3 separate regions of the Homo sapiens genome follow, and all the other regions are linked to region 1. The links are contacts of gene promoters, found by promoter capture Hi-C in human tissues and cell types (Jung and others, 2019). All regions are on one chromosome and are shown on one strand. The core of a region is centred on a gene start or on the middle of the fragment in contact, and the rest is flanking DNA. Distances in the headings are between cores, read along the strand shown. Region 1 holds the start of ANKRD29 (ankyrin repeat domain 29). Region 2 overlaps ANKRD29 (ankyrin repeat domain 29). Region 3 overlaps ANKRD29 (ankyrin repeat domain 29).

Region 1 (4,054 bases), core at 920-3,419:
GGTTGCAGTGAGCCAAGATTGCGCCACTGCACTCTAGCCTGGGTGACAAGAGCAAGACTTTGTCCAAACAAACAAACAAACTAACAAAAATCTGTTTCTTGCAGAATTTCTTGAAAGAGTTCTCCACACTTGTGGATTCTACCCACTCTCTTTCAAGCTATTGCAATCTGGCTCCTGATCCTAACACCACTGAAAGTGCTCTTGGCAAGGTCACCAGTGCCTATTCCGTCACTAAATCCAATGGACTTTTCAATTCTTTGTTTATTTGATTTCCCTGTGGCATTAATAAACATCAAGGTCCTCTTCATCTTTGTTGAAAGATTAGAGATGCTTGGTGTAAGTGACAGCACATGCTTCTGAGTTTTCTCATTCGTCTCTGGCTGCTCTTTCTCAAATCTTCTTCAAGATTTTGTCCTCAGTCCTCTTATTTTCCACCTTTATATGGTTCCACTGGGCAATCATGTTCATTCCCATGGGTGCCTACTTAACACTGCTGACTCCTAAATCTCATCTCTAGCTGCTGCCCAGACTTGCCTCCTGGGATCGAGGAGAGTATATCTGTCTAATCAACATCTCTGCTTGGATTCCCATCTATCCTCAAAATTTATCCCAAACCAAACGTTTTATCTTTATCTCTCTTGCCTTCCCTACTGAATTATGCCGATTTAAAACTTTTAAAGTCGGCCGGGCGTAGTGGCTCACGCCTTTAACCCCAGCACTTTGGGAGGCCAAGGAGGGTGGATCACCTGAGGTCAGGAGTTCGAGACCAGCCTCGCCAACATGGCAGAACCCCGTCTCTACTAAAAATACGAAAAAATTAGCTGGGCATGGTGGCGCACGCCTGTAATCCCAGCTACTCTGGAGGGTAAGGAAGGAGAAATAGCTTGAACCCGGGAGGCGGAAGTTGCAGTGAGCTGAGATCACACCATTGCACTCCAGCCTGGGCAACAAGAGCAAAACTCCGTCTCAGGAAAAAAAACTTTAAAGTCATTCACATTCGTCTGCTTCGTTCCATTCTCACCACCTATGCACTGGTCCAGTACCATTTCTTAAAAAGATGACAACATCTTCCAGCTCCAACCCTCTTCTCCAAACCTAGCCAGAGATCTTTGCAACATGCACATCTCGCCATGTCACTCCTCTGCTTACATGAGCTATTGTCGGCAACGGGATTACAGTGGCTTAGGAGTCAGACACACTTGGGTTTCAGTCTTAACACCATAACTTATTGGCTGCAAAACCGTGGGTGAGTTAATTTCTCTATATCTTAGTTTTCTCATTTGAAAAAAAAAAAAAAAAGAGCCACGAAGAGCACCTCCCACAGGTCTCCCCCAGGGTTGAGACCATACACACCATGTCCTTGGTTCAGAGTCAGGCACATTTGAACTGTTTAATACATTTTAACTGCTATTTTTATTAAACCCTTTCAATCGAGGCAAATCAACCTCTTTCATCCTAAAATGTGGGGATTAGATGGAATGACTTTAATCAACTCTTTTGAGACAAGACACCTTTGGACCCTGAAGCCTCCCTGGGTGCTGGCCACCCCTCCGGGGAGGAGGCATCCGTGGGTGCAGCTGGTACTCCTGCATGAGGACCCAGAGGGTCAGGGTCGGGGACTCCTTCTGCTGCAGGACAGCGCTGACCCCAGGCTTCTTACCCGCCCCCGACCTGTTACCCGGCGACAGTCCCCGCCGCCCCGTCGCCGGGCACAGACTCAGCCGATCCACAGCCATGAGTGCGAAGCCTCTCAGGCAGGGCAGGCAGGCAAACCGCAAACCCACAGGGCGCACCCAGCCCCGCCGCTTCCTCCCGGGCCTCGCCCGCAGCTGGAGGAGAGAGGAAGGAGGAGGCGGCGGGCAGCGGGCAGCGCCCACCCCATCCCACCCCATCCCACCCCACCCGACCCCGCGGGCCCGGCCGCCCGAGCCCGGCCCCAGCCCTGACCCCGGAGTCCCGGTCGCTCACCTTGAAGGACATCCTGCACATGTCCGCGGCCGCCCGAGCGGGAGCCGGCGCGCTTTGGGCCCGGGGCGCCTTGTCCTCCCCGGCCCTTCACTCTCCCGGGGCTCTCGGCGTTCCGCAGAGGGGCGGCCTCCGACGCCGCGCGCTCCCGCCGCCCGGCCCGGCAGCAGCCGCCGCACACAGGGCCGGGCCGAAGGGGCGGCGCGGGGGCGCGCGCGCGCGCACACTACACATGGGGTGTCGCGTGGACGCGCTCCAGGACCTGCCACACACGCGCGTGCACAAACACCCCAAACTCCGCACGCACTGTGCACTTTCCACACACGTCCACACTTCCACACTCACTCGTCCACACACACACTCCAAACTCCACACACATTGTGCATACGCTCCACATTCCACACACACAGAGGTTCCACACACATACTTTCCACACTCACGCCCACTCACCCGCATGTACTCACACACAAACTCCATACATATCCTCCCAAATAGACTGGTCTGCCCCAGAGGACTCCCAACCTTCATTACAGCACAAATATTATAATGATGTAAAAATGAAGCTTGAGGAAAAAATTCATCCAATAGCTATTTTCGTTATAATTTCTTTCTCGGTTTCCTGGGAAACTTTTTTCTCCTGGGGAAAATATCTAGGAAACAAACCTTTTGATTGCACAAACAATAAGTGGTCTTTTCCTCTTTGAAGGGCAAAGGCCAATTTTGGAATAGACTCATACCCCTCCTCCTCCTCCGCGTTATTAATCCAGCAGTTCCCTCCTCCTCTGGGTCTGATGCTGCAGCCCTGGAGTATTGCAGTATGTGTGTCCACTCCTGCTGCCTGCCCAGGATTGGTTTGGGCGAAGTAAAACTGGGAGTTTTAAGTATAAACGGCAACAACAGCTCTTTGAGAGCATTTTAGAAAAGTGAAAGTAAAAAAGTAGCCCAGGCATAGTGGCTCACGCCTATAATCCCAACTCTTTGGGAGGCCAAAGGCGGGCAGATCACTTGAGTCCAGGAGTTCGAGATCAGACTGGCCAACATGGCAAAACTCTATCTCTACTAAAAATACAAAAATTAGCCAGGCGTGGTGGTGCGCACCTGTAGTCCCAGCTACTCGGGAGGCTGAGGTGGGAGGATCGCTTGAACCTGGGAGGTTGAGGCTGCAGTGAGCCAAGATTCGGTCACTGCACTCCAGCCTGGGCAACAGAGCAAGACTCTGCCTCAAAAATAAAAATAAAAACAAAACAAAAAAATAGTATAAAAATGGAGGTCTTACCCCCTCAAACTATAAGAATCCACTCATTCATTCTCCCCCTCCTTCCCTCTTCTCAATTAAATTTGTAACGAATATTTAATTTAAAAGGTAGAAAACAATTACAAATAAAAGTTAATGATAAAAATTAAAATGTTTAACCTTCATGGATAAATTGTATTACTTTGTGCTTAAAACAACTTTAAATTAAAAACATTCTGAACTTTTATAGAAAATTCCAATTTTAAAAATAAGGACTCTAAACATTTTCCTTGCCTTGAGTGCCTATAAATGACACAGTTTTTAAGTTGCCACACAACGTTATTATATAAAAATCAAGCATCAGAGGTTTTGCTTTAATAGTTTTTTGTTTGTTTGTTTGTTTTTTCTTCTCAGATGGAGTTTCGCTCTTTTGCCCAGGCTGAAGTGAAGTGGCATGATCCTGGCTCACTGCAACCTCCACCCCCCGGGTTCAAGCAATTCTCCTGCCTCAGCCTCTCGAGTAGCTGGTATTATAGGCTCCTGTCACCGTGCCCAGCTAATTTTTGTATTTTTAGTAGAGACAGGGTTTCGCCATGTTGGCCAGGCTGGTCTCGAACTACTGACCTCAGGTGATCCACCTGGTTCGGCCTCCCAAGGTGCTAGGATTACAAACGTGAGCCACCGCGCCTGGTCTGCTTTAATAGTTTTGATAAATAAAAGGGAGAAAGGAAAGAACTAATATTTTGAGTGTTTTCTAGGTACAAGGTGCTTTCCTTATAAACATTTTATGGGGTGAGTATTAACCCATTCCACGGATGAAAAAACTAAGATTCTGAGAGATTGGAGTAATTTGCT
Region 2 (4,054 bases), core at 627-3,126, 61 kb before region 1:
AACTCAAGATTCCACAGCATGTTAGGTATACTTACTTATAGAATAGGAAATAGATTCCCAACAATAGAGCCAAAATAAAAGACCAAAGAGACAAGCCTATATATTTCTCGTGGTTTATAAGTTTCTGAATTTCCAAATTTGCCACTGGTATTTTAACCTACCTACAATGTTGACTCTACGTAAAATTGATTTTTACATGTCAGGAATAAGATGAGGATCAACGAACAAATGCACAGTCTGTCTTTTCTATAGTTCAATAGTCCATCTTTGAATAGCACATAATGGAATGTCAGAAGTGGTTTTTTAATAATGTATGTTTACACTTCATTGATTTATAACAATCATGGCTATGGTTCTTGGGTAGAGGAGAATGTTTTATACTGGAATGACATACATATGTAGGTAAAATATGATAGATCTATATATTTTAGCACATCTACATTTAACACAAAAGCAAAAGTGCCTCAATCCATTGAAGGTCAGCTTTTCAGTCTTTTAAAGGAACAAAGCATTCTGTCTCCTTGCTTAGTACTGAGAACCCTGTCCACCTTAGAGTTTAACTGACAGGTCCAAGTTAGCATTGTTGAAAATGAGTTTCTGTGGAATCTGTGAACATGCCAGGCCCCCCGGGAGATGAGTTACAGGACACCATGAGAAGTCCATGGTGAAGGGGCAAGAGGGTCCCTGAGCTGTTTGGTTCTTGACTTCGTGCACAGAGCGTAGCTCTTCTTTGTCAGGGACCCACAGGATGGGCATTCTGGGCATCTTTTTTTTTCATAAAAGAATTTCCAACACTGCTTGAAATGCAATTTCTTTTTGGACAATGTGGTTAAGCTTTCTATCTTTCTGTCAAATATGGAGCTAAGTTAGCTCTTTCTGGGACCTTCTTTACTTCTCAGGAGACGCAATATACGTTCATTTTTGGTTAGTTCTGCCGGAAGTTCATTGGCCTGAAAGAAGAGAAGATGGGCATTAGTGAATCCCCATAGCTGGTGTGGTTTTAGGGACTCCAAAGAGGGGCATTTGACCCACTCTTTCTCCTTCACTAATGAAAAAAATCCACACTGGACTCACTCTTTTATATAAAGGTATTACAAATCTTCTTTAAATGTATAAATATTACTTGTTATATCCTTATCTCATTCTTAGAGACATTTTCCAGCCAGATCCCTTACTAGACTGTAATCTCTTAGGGGGAAGGGTCCAGATCTAATTAATCATTGTATCCTTATCTCCAGCACAATGCCCAGCATGTCTAAAATGTGCTCAATAAGTACCGGTCAAATTAAATGTTATACCTTATATGTATTTTATTATTATTATTTTTTGAGACAGGGTCTTGCTCTGTCACCCAGGCTGGAGTGCAGTGTTGCAATCATGGCTCACTGCAGCGTTGACCTCCCCAGCTCAAATGATCCTCCCACCTCAGCCTCCCGAGTAGCTGGGACCACAGATGTGCACCACTATGCTCGGCTAATTTCCAGAGATGGGGTTTGCCATGTTGCCCCAGCTGGTCTTGAACTCCTCGGTTTAAGTGATCCTTCTGCCTCAGCTTCCAAAGTGTTGGGATTACAGGCATCAGCCACCGTGCCCAGCCTACCTTATATTTATTAATGTATGACATGAGGTAGTCTGCCCACTAAGGACTTGGGACTGAGTCAGGACTCAGCACAGGTGTCTTTTTTTTTGTTTTTTGAGATGGAGTCTCACTTTGTCACCCAGGCTGGAGTGCAGTGGTGTGACCTCGGCTCACTGCAATCTCTGCCTCCTGGGTTCAAGCAATTCTCCTGCCTCAGCCTCCCGAGTGGCTGGGACTACAGGCATGTGCCACCATGCTCGGCTGAATTTTGTATTTTTAGTAGAGATGGGGTTTCGCCATTTAGCCAGGCTGGTCTTGAACTCCTGACCTCAAGTGATCCGCCCGCCTCCGCCTCCCAAGGTGCTGGGATTACAGGTGTGAGCCACCGCGCCCGGGCCAGATATCTTTTGATGAGAAGGCAGAGATAGGAAACCTCCAGAGCATAAGAGACACCCGGGAAAGAAGAGCATTGGTGGCTAACACCTTCCACCTTACTCAGTATCACTCGAAGGCCTTTCTTTTCACATTGCTGCTGAGATACATCCATTAGGCATCTAGTGAACCAGTCCCTACCATTGACAACAGGTGTGATGTGGAAGTGGCTCTCAAACCTGTTGGTTTCAGGACCCTTTATACTCTCAAAAATTACTGAAGAGTCTAACAAATTTTGTTTTTAACTTATTAAAAATGAAAGCTGAGGGCTATGCGCAGTGGCTCACACCTGTAATGCTAGCACTTTGAGAGGCTGAGGTGAGAGGACCACTTGAGCTCAGGAGTTGGAGACCAGCCTGGGCAACATAGTGAAACCTCATCTCTATTATTTAGAAAGAAAATATTTTCAAAAAGAAAAAAAAAAGAAATTAAAACTGAGAAAATTTTAAAAATATATTTATTAATTCACTAAAAATAATAAATCCAAGTTAATATAGTTATGAAAAATTAAATTTTCAAAAACAAGTAAAAATTCTCAGAAGAGTAGCACTGCTCAACAGCTTTACATATTTCTTTCATGTGTAGCTTAACAGAATACAATTGGATTCTCATATCTCCATCTGTATCCTGTCTATTGTGATATGCTGTTTTGGTAGAAGGATATAAAGAAAATTAAGCTTCACACAGATATGTAGCTGGAAAAGGAAGGAGTATTTTAACAGTCTTTTTGGATTGCTGTGGATATTATTCTCTGATGCCACATCAATACTCAACAAATGGTAGTTTCTTAAAGGTTAAATGCAATGTGGGATTTGAAACCATACCAATGAACTTTAAAACCCACAGGTTTATCTATTTATAGTTGGATCTTTTACCTATGCATGGTTTGTAACATGCACTGCTCATTTGGAAAATATCAGTTCACTGAGTTTGTAGAATGTTGGCACATTTCATTGTGCAATATCAAAAACTCACATTCTGGCTGGGCGTGGTGGCTCACGCCTGTAATCCCAGCACTTTGGGAGGCCAAGGCAAGTGGATCACCTGAGGTCACAAGTTTAAGACCAGCCTGGCCAATATGGCAAAAACCTGTCTCCACTAAAAATACAAAAATTAGCTGGGCGTGGTGGCACATGCCTGTAATCCCAGCTACTCAGGAGGCTGAGGCAGGAGAATCCCTTGAACCTGGGAGGCGGAGGTTGCAGTGAGCTGAGATCACGCCACTGCACTCCAGCCTGAGTGATAGTGAGAGAGACTCCATCTCACAAACAAACAAACAAAAAAACTGATCCATCAGAAAAGCCTTTAAGTTTTGGGAAGCTGTTAAGGTCATAGTGGTAGATACCTTGTTCTTTCAAGTAAAAATAGTGATCTATGAAAAAAGTGGCAGGTTCACTTTGCAATTCAAACAACTGCACAGGGACTGTGGAGGCTAATGCAACTCCATCTTGGATGCTAATCTGCCATGTTTACTTCTTTTTTTTTTTTTTAAGACGGAGTCTCACTCTGTTGCCCAGGCTGGAGTGCAGTGGTGCCATCTCGGCTCACTGCAACCTCTACCTCCCGAGTTCAAGTGATTCTCCTGCCTCAGCCTCCCCAGTAGCTGGGATTATAGGTGCACACCACCATGCCCAGCTAATTTTTGTATTTTAGTAGAGATGAGGTTTCATCGTGTTGGCCAGGCTGGTCTCGAACTCCTGACCTCAAGTGATGCGCCTGCCTCGGCCTCCCAAACTGCTGGGATTACAGGTGTGAGCCACCGCACTCAGGCTGCCATGTGATTAACCCTAGTTTTGGGAATGCCTCTAAGATTCCTATTTTATCTACTTTTTTGTGTTTCCTACTGAAAATCCTGACCATAGGTCAAAACGACCTTGCCCATAAGTCCTGCCCTTAGGCAGTCACGTAGTGTTCTTGCCTTTCCCTGAGAGGTTGACTTCACTTGTCCTGTATATTCCTTCCCTTAGGCCCTGGGTCTGGGGGGTGGTGTCCTGAGACTATGACTCCTGTCCCTGTTACTTTCTGAGAAACTGGATATGTCAG
Region 3 (4,054 bases), core at 437-2,936, 37 kb before region 1:
AATGAGATTCATGGGGTTATGATAGCTGTCTTTTACTATGTGTGTGTATATCAAGTAGAAAAGGATTTAGACCAATTTTTCAGACCAAGTGATAGAAAGAAGACAGATGGGTGAAAGCTGCATGGAGACTTGGGGTCAATGTATAAAAGTTTAATGAGTGTTGGCTAAGACCAAAGAAACTGATCAGAGAGGAGTGAGTTCTCCATGCCTAGAGGTGTTCAACAGTAGCTGATTATCATAGAAAGGATTCGAGTACCGATGGATGGCTAAATAGAGTGAGTTTTATAGTTTCCTCCAACTCTGTTATTCCCTCATTTCATTCGAGATCACTTTTACAGCCAGATCACAGCATGAGATGGAGTATATGACACAACCTGTATTAGAGACTAACCTTGTATGGTCTTATGTAGGCTCCTGAGAGTATTTGGAAAAAAGAACTAAAACCATCCTCTTCTGTGGGAATGAGTATCTGAAGCGGCACTAGCTCTTTGCTTCTACGATTTCCAGCCGTCACACTTGGGTTACTTCTACCTACAGGGTTAGGCCAGTCAGAAAGTCTTGGGGACCAATTCTATTTGAAGTTGGGAGTCCAAGAGCTGTGAGGAATCCTGCCCGTGGCAGAGGGAGTTCAATATTGAGATAATTTTCTTACCCACCCTACCCTGCCCTGGAGCCTATTTCTTATGATTGTCCCTTGCACCGTGTGCCTGGCCCAGCAAATGGGTCTGTAAGAGATTTTACCAGATGCTGCATTGCCCATGGTCTGACTCTATCCTCCCCAGTCAAGGGTGATGGGACTGAGGATAGGCAGGCCAGCCAGTCACTGTGGCCTGGTGCACAAAGATGAGCTGTGACAATGACATGGCTATTCCCAGAGGTTGGCAGTCTGATCCATAAACCTGGGGACCACATACAAGATAAGTAAGCAGACAAAACTGGTAAAAAAAGAAAGGAGTGGGGAGAAACAGAGATATGAAGAGACTTTGAGATGACAGAGAACACACGACTCACTAGAGAAAGTGCAGCCTTGATTTCTGATGGGTTTTCTGTTCCAATGAGGCCTGGTTGGAATAGGAATGATAATAACAGCAATACCTAACATTGCACTGGGTGTGTATCAGCTACTGCATTAAGAGTTTTGCAGGGATTATTTTATTTAATTATCACAGTAGTCCTAAAATACTGAGACTCAGGGACAGTAGGCAACCTGCTAAGGTCACACAGTTAATAAGCAAAATGGGGCCTCTGTTTCATTTTAAGATATCTATATCCCCATAATTTCCAAGCTGCTCTCCACCCAAAAAATCTGGGTCTGCTCCCTAGCTGCCTCTTACAGTCTTCCTGGGGCTTATGCTTATGAGTCTGGGCCCTATATCTGGAGCCTTCTTCTAACTCTCAGGCACTGATCACTAAATGCTGCAGGCTTCCAGACCTGCTCTGCACCAGCCATGGGGATCTTCTGGCAGTCGATACACTTTTTCTGAGTGTGTACCATGTGCAAACGAAACAAGACAGAGTCCCTGCCCTTGCCAAGCAGCAAGGACTTCCTATGGCTGTCTGTTCCCATTTCCAAACCCCCAGGATTCTACGCTAATCTTTTGGCTCCTTCTCCCACTGCCATTGATGGATTCACCCCTCTAAGCTTCCGACCTGGGAGAACGTTTAATTTCTGGGTCCAGCTACTCTGTGTACAAGTCAAGGCTTCTGTTAGGAGATGGCACTTTATTAGATGACTTTTCCTCCAGCCTTCAAAGAAATACTGTTTAGCACATGAAAAAGACTAGATAGAGATGAGTTAACTGACTAACCTCAGCTCTGGGTTAACAGGATCAGACCTTTGCATTCTATTAAAGTATTGTTTTAATAAGGTGGGTGAGTGGAGTTGGGAAAATATATGTCGAGGCATTTGGTTAATAGAAAAATAGAAATAGCCACTCAGCTAGTGATTAAAAAGGTCTGACTCATAGCAACTCAACTTGGTGAGGACACGTGGAAAGAAATGAAAATGAATTGTTAGAGTGAAATCTATATTTCAATGATCTCTGTGACTCTTGACCTTTTGGCTTAGGACAATATGGAAGGAAAATATTTTTTGAAGTTTCAAATCAAGAACATAGTCTTCCTACTGTCTGGCTATGACTAGATTTGGGATTATGATTCCTCATCCCAAAGTACTAAAAAGGTCTTCATTTAGTTCTCAGTGATAGAGTTACAAAGAAAAGTCATCCCACTACCGTTCAGATTCCCTGAAGCTCATATCAAATGTCAGCTGAGTAATTTCAATGTAACTTTGTCAACATCCTGTTACAGGATACCGTAATAAAATGGTAGGGCTTCATAGAATGTCAGTGCAACAATTACAAATCAGATTTAGCCAAAAGTATTAGGAAATTAAACCAGGCAGGTATTCCTGTCCTCATTTTGTAAATTCAAGGATTTTCCAATAATGACTCAATGTGTCAGCTGAGATTTCAGAATAAAACATTGGTTTCCAAATGCTCTACCTATAGAATATAGGTAGGCCATGTGCAGGCCATGTGCAGGCATGGCACTGTTTTCTTGGAACATAATAAATATGCAGAGTTTACACTTTCAGAGAAGACGGAACTTGAGCTAGTCTGACCTGGATAGATAACAACCTCTAATTATAAGCTCACAGTAGGTAATAAAAATTATTATGATTTGAGGGCACAATGGGGTGAGTGTACTCTGTAAAAAGGAAAAATTCCATTGCCTTTTTTCCCCAAAGCAATTCTTATTTTATAAGACACCCTTTTCCTGAATAACAATTCTTTTAGGGCTGAACTCAAAATAATTCAAAACAATTTCATTAGATGCAGTCTTTAGAAGTTGTAGCACTTGCTCCTTGACCAGAGGGTGGATCCCTGCACTCAAAGACTAGGTCATCCACTTTGACCAGGTTATCCTAACTCTTGAGGAAGAAAAAACAGCTATGGCGTGTTGTGGCTACTGCTGCAATGTTGGTTTACTCTTTAACTTCTTGGCTTCAACATCACGGCATGACTCATTTTAGGTTTAAGTGGGCATGGCTCATGCAACATTTGAAATATAATCTCTTATATCGACTTGGTTTTTTACAAGCAGTACTTTAGGCATATAAAGAATAAAATTCAAAGTGCCAGAAATTATTTTGGAAGGATGTACTAATAGAGAGACTTGATAATCTTGATAACCTCACATTCTAAATTCACAGTGGTATCTTCAATAATGGCCCCCAAATCAAACTTAGGCAATCTAAAAATAACCAATTCCTTTTACTAATTTTAGTAAAATGAATCATCTGATTCAGAATCAATCAACAATAACAAAATAAGAAGGACCAATACGAAAATATTAAACTCCAGTCCTCGAAAGTCAACTCTAGCAGGACGAAAGTAAAAGTTTTTTTGAAACTGCTTCCTTTCCCAGGAGTATTCCTGGGGCCACCTAAGAATAACTTTACAATTCTAAAAATATAACCTTACATTGATACATTACATTGATTACAATGTCTGGCACATGGTAAGTACTCAAGAAATATTGATTGAATGTTGAATAAAACAATTATTTAAAATGTGGGCATTTGAAGAGATCATCAGGCTCATGCTGCTCAGCCTCCTAATTTTCAATGATGAAAGTCAGGCCCAGAGAGGTTGATTCACTTGTTCAAAACCACACAGCTCAAATTATTGGCAGAGATGGATTGAGAACTTGGGATTCCTGACCTCAAAACCACTTTGCTTTCCTGACTTCAAACCACTCTGCCCAAAGGCTCTTTATTTTTCTCAGGCTCCTTATGTGCTTGGGCTTCTAAAGACCAGAGAAACCTGTGTCCAAGAGCTCAGACCAACCTTAAAGTTCTCATAGCTATTCATTATGTGAACACAGAGAGGCATTCCTGTATCAGGTCATAGTACAGTGGAGATGTGCCTGGGTATGAAATCAGCTTGACTTTTTCCTAGGAAACTACCTTTATAGTAATGTTTCCTTAATTCGAAATGTTTTGTTAAAAATAAATTAATCTGGTGCCAGGCATGGTGGCTCACACTTGTAA

The links. The method cuts DNA at HindIII sites, captures the fragments that hold promoters and counts their contacts. A contact is called where the count stands out against the background at its distance.
Region 2: a fragment that was not itself captured here is called in contact with the fragment with the promoter of ANKRD29 in region 1 in 1 of the 25 tissues and cell types used here (aorta).
Region 3: a contact is called between a fragment that was not itself captured here and the fragment with the promoter of ANKRD29 in region 1, in 1 of the 25 tissues and cell types used here (mesendoderm cells).

What each region holds. Positions count from the first base shown.
Region 1 is chr18:23,660,742-23,664,795 of GRCh38, forward strand. It overlaps ANKRD29 (ankyrin repeat domain 29), which reads right to left and starts at 2,170. Exons shown (of 10, transcript NM_173505.4): 1 at 1,969-2,170. The coding sequence starts at 1,989. The HindIII fragment of the contact is 14,259 bases long and covers 1-4,054 here.
Region 2 is chr18:23,600,360-23,604,413 of GRCh38, forward strand. It overlaps ANKRD29 (ankyrin repeat domain 29), which reads right to left. Exons shown (of 10, transcript NM_173505.4): 10 at 1-950. The coding sequence ends at 867. Among named protein-coding and RNA genes, the nearest start is that of NPC1, 16 kb to the left of the region's middle. The HindIII fragment of the contact is 5,934 bases long and covers 1-4,054 here.
Region 3 is chr18:23,624,528-23,628,581 of GRCh38, forward strand. All of the region lies in intron 6 of ANKRD29 (ankyrin repeat domain 29), which reads right to left. Among named protein-coding and RNA genes, the nearest start is that of ANKRD29, 36 kb to the right of the region's middle. The HindIII fragment of the contact is 9,770 bases long and covers 1-4,054 here.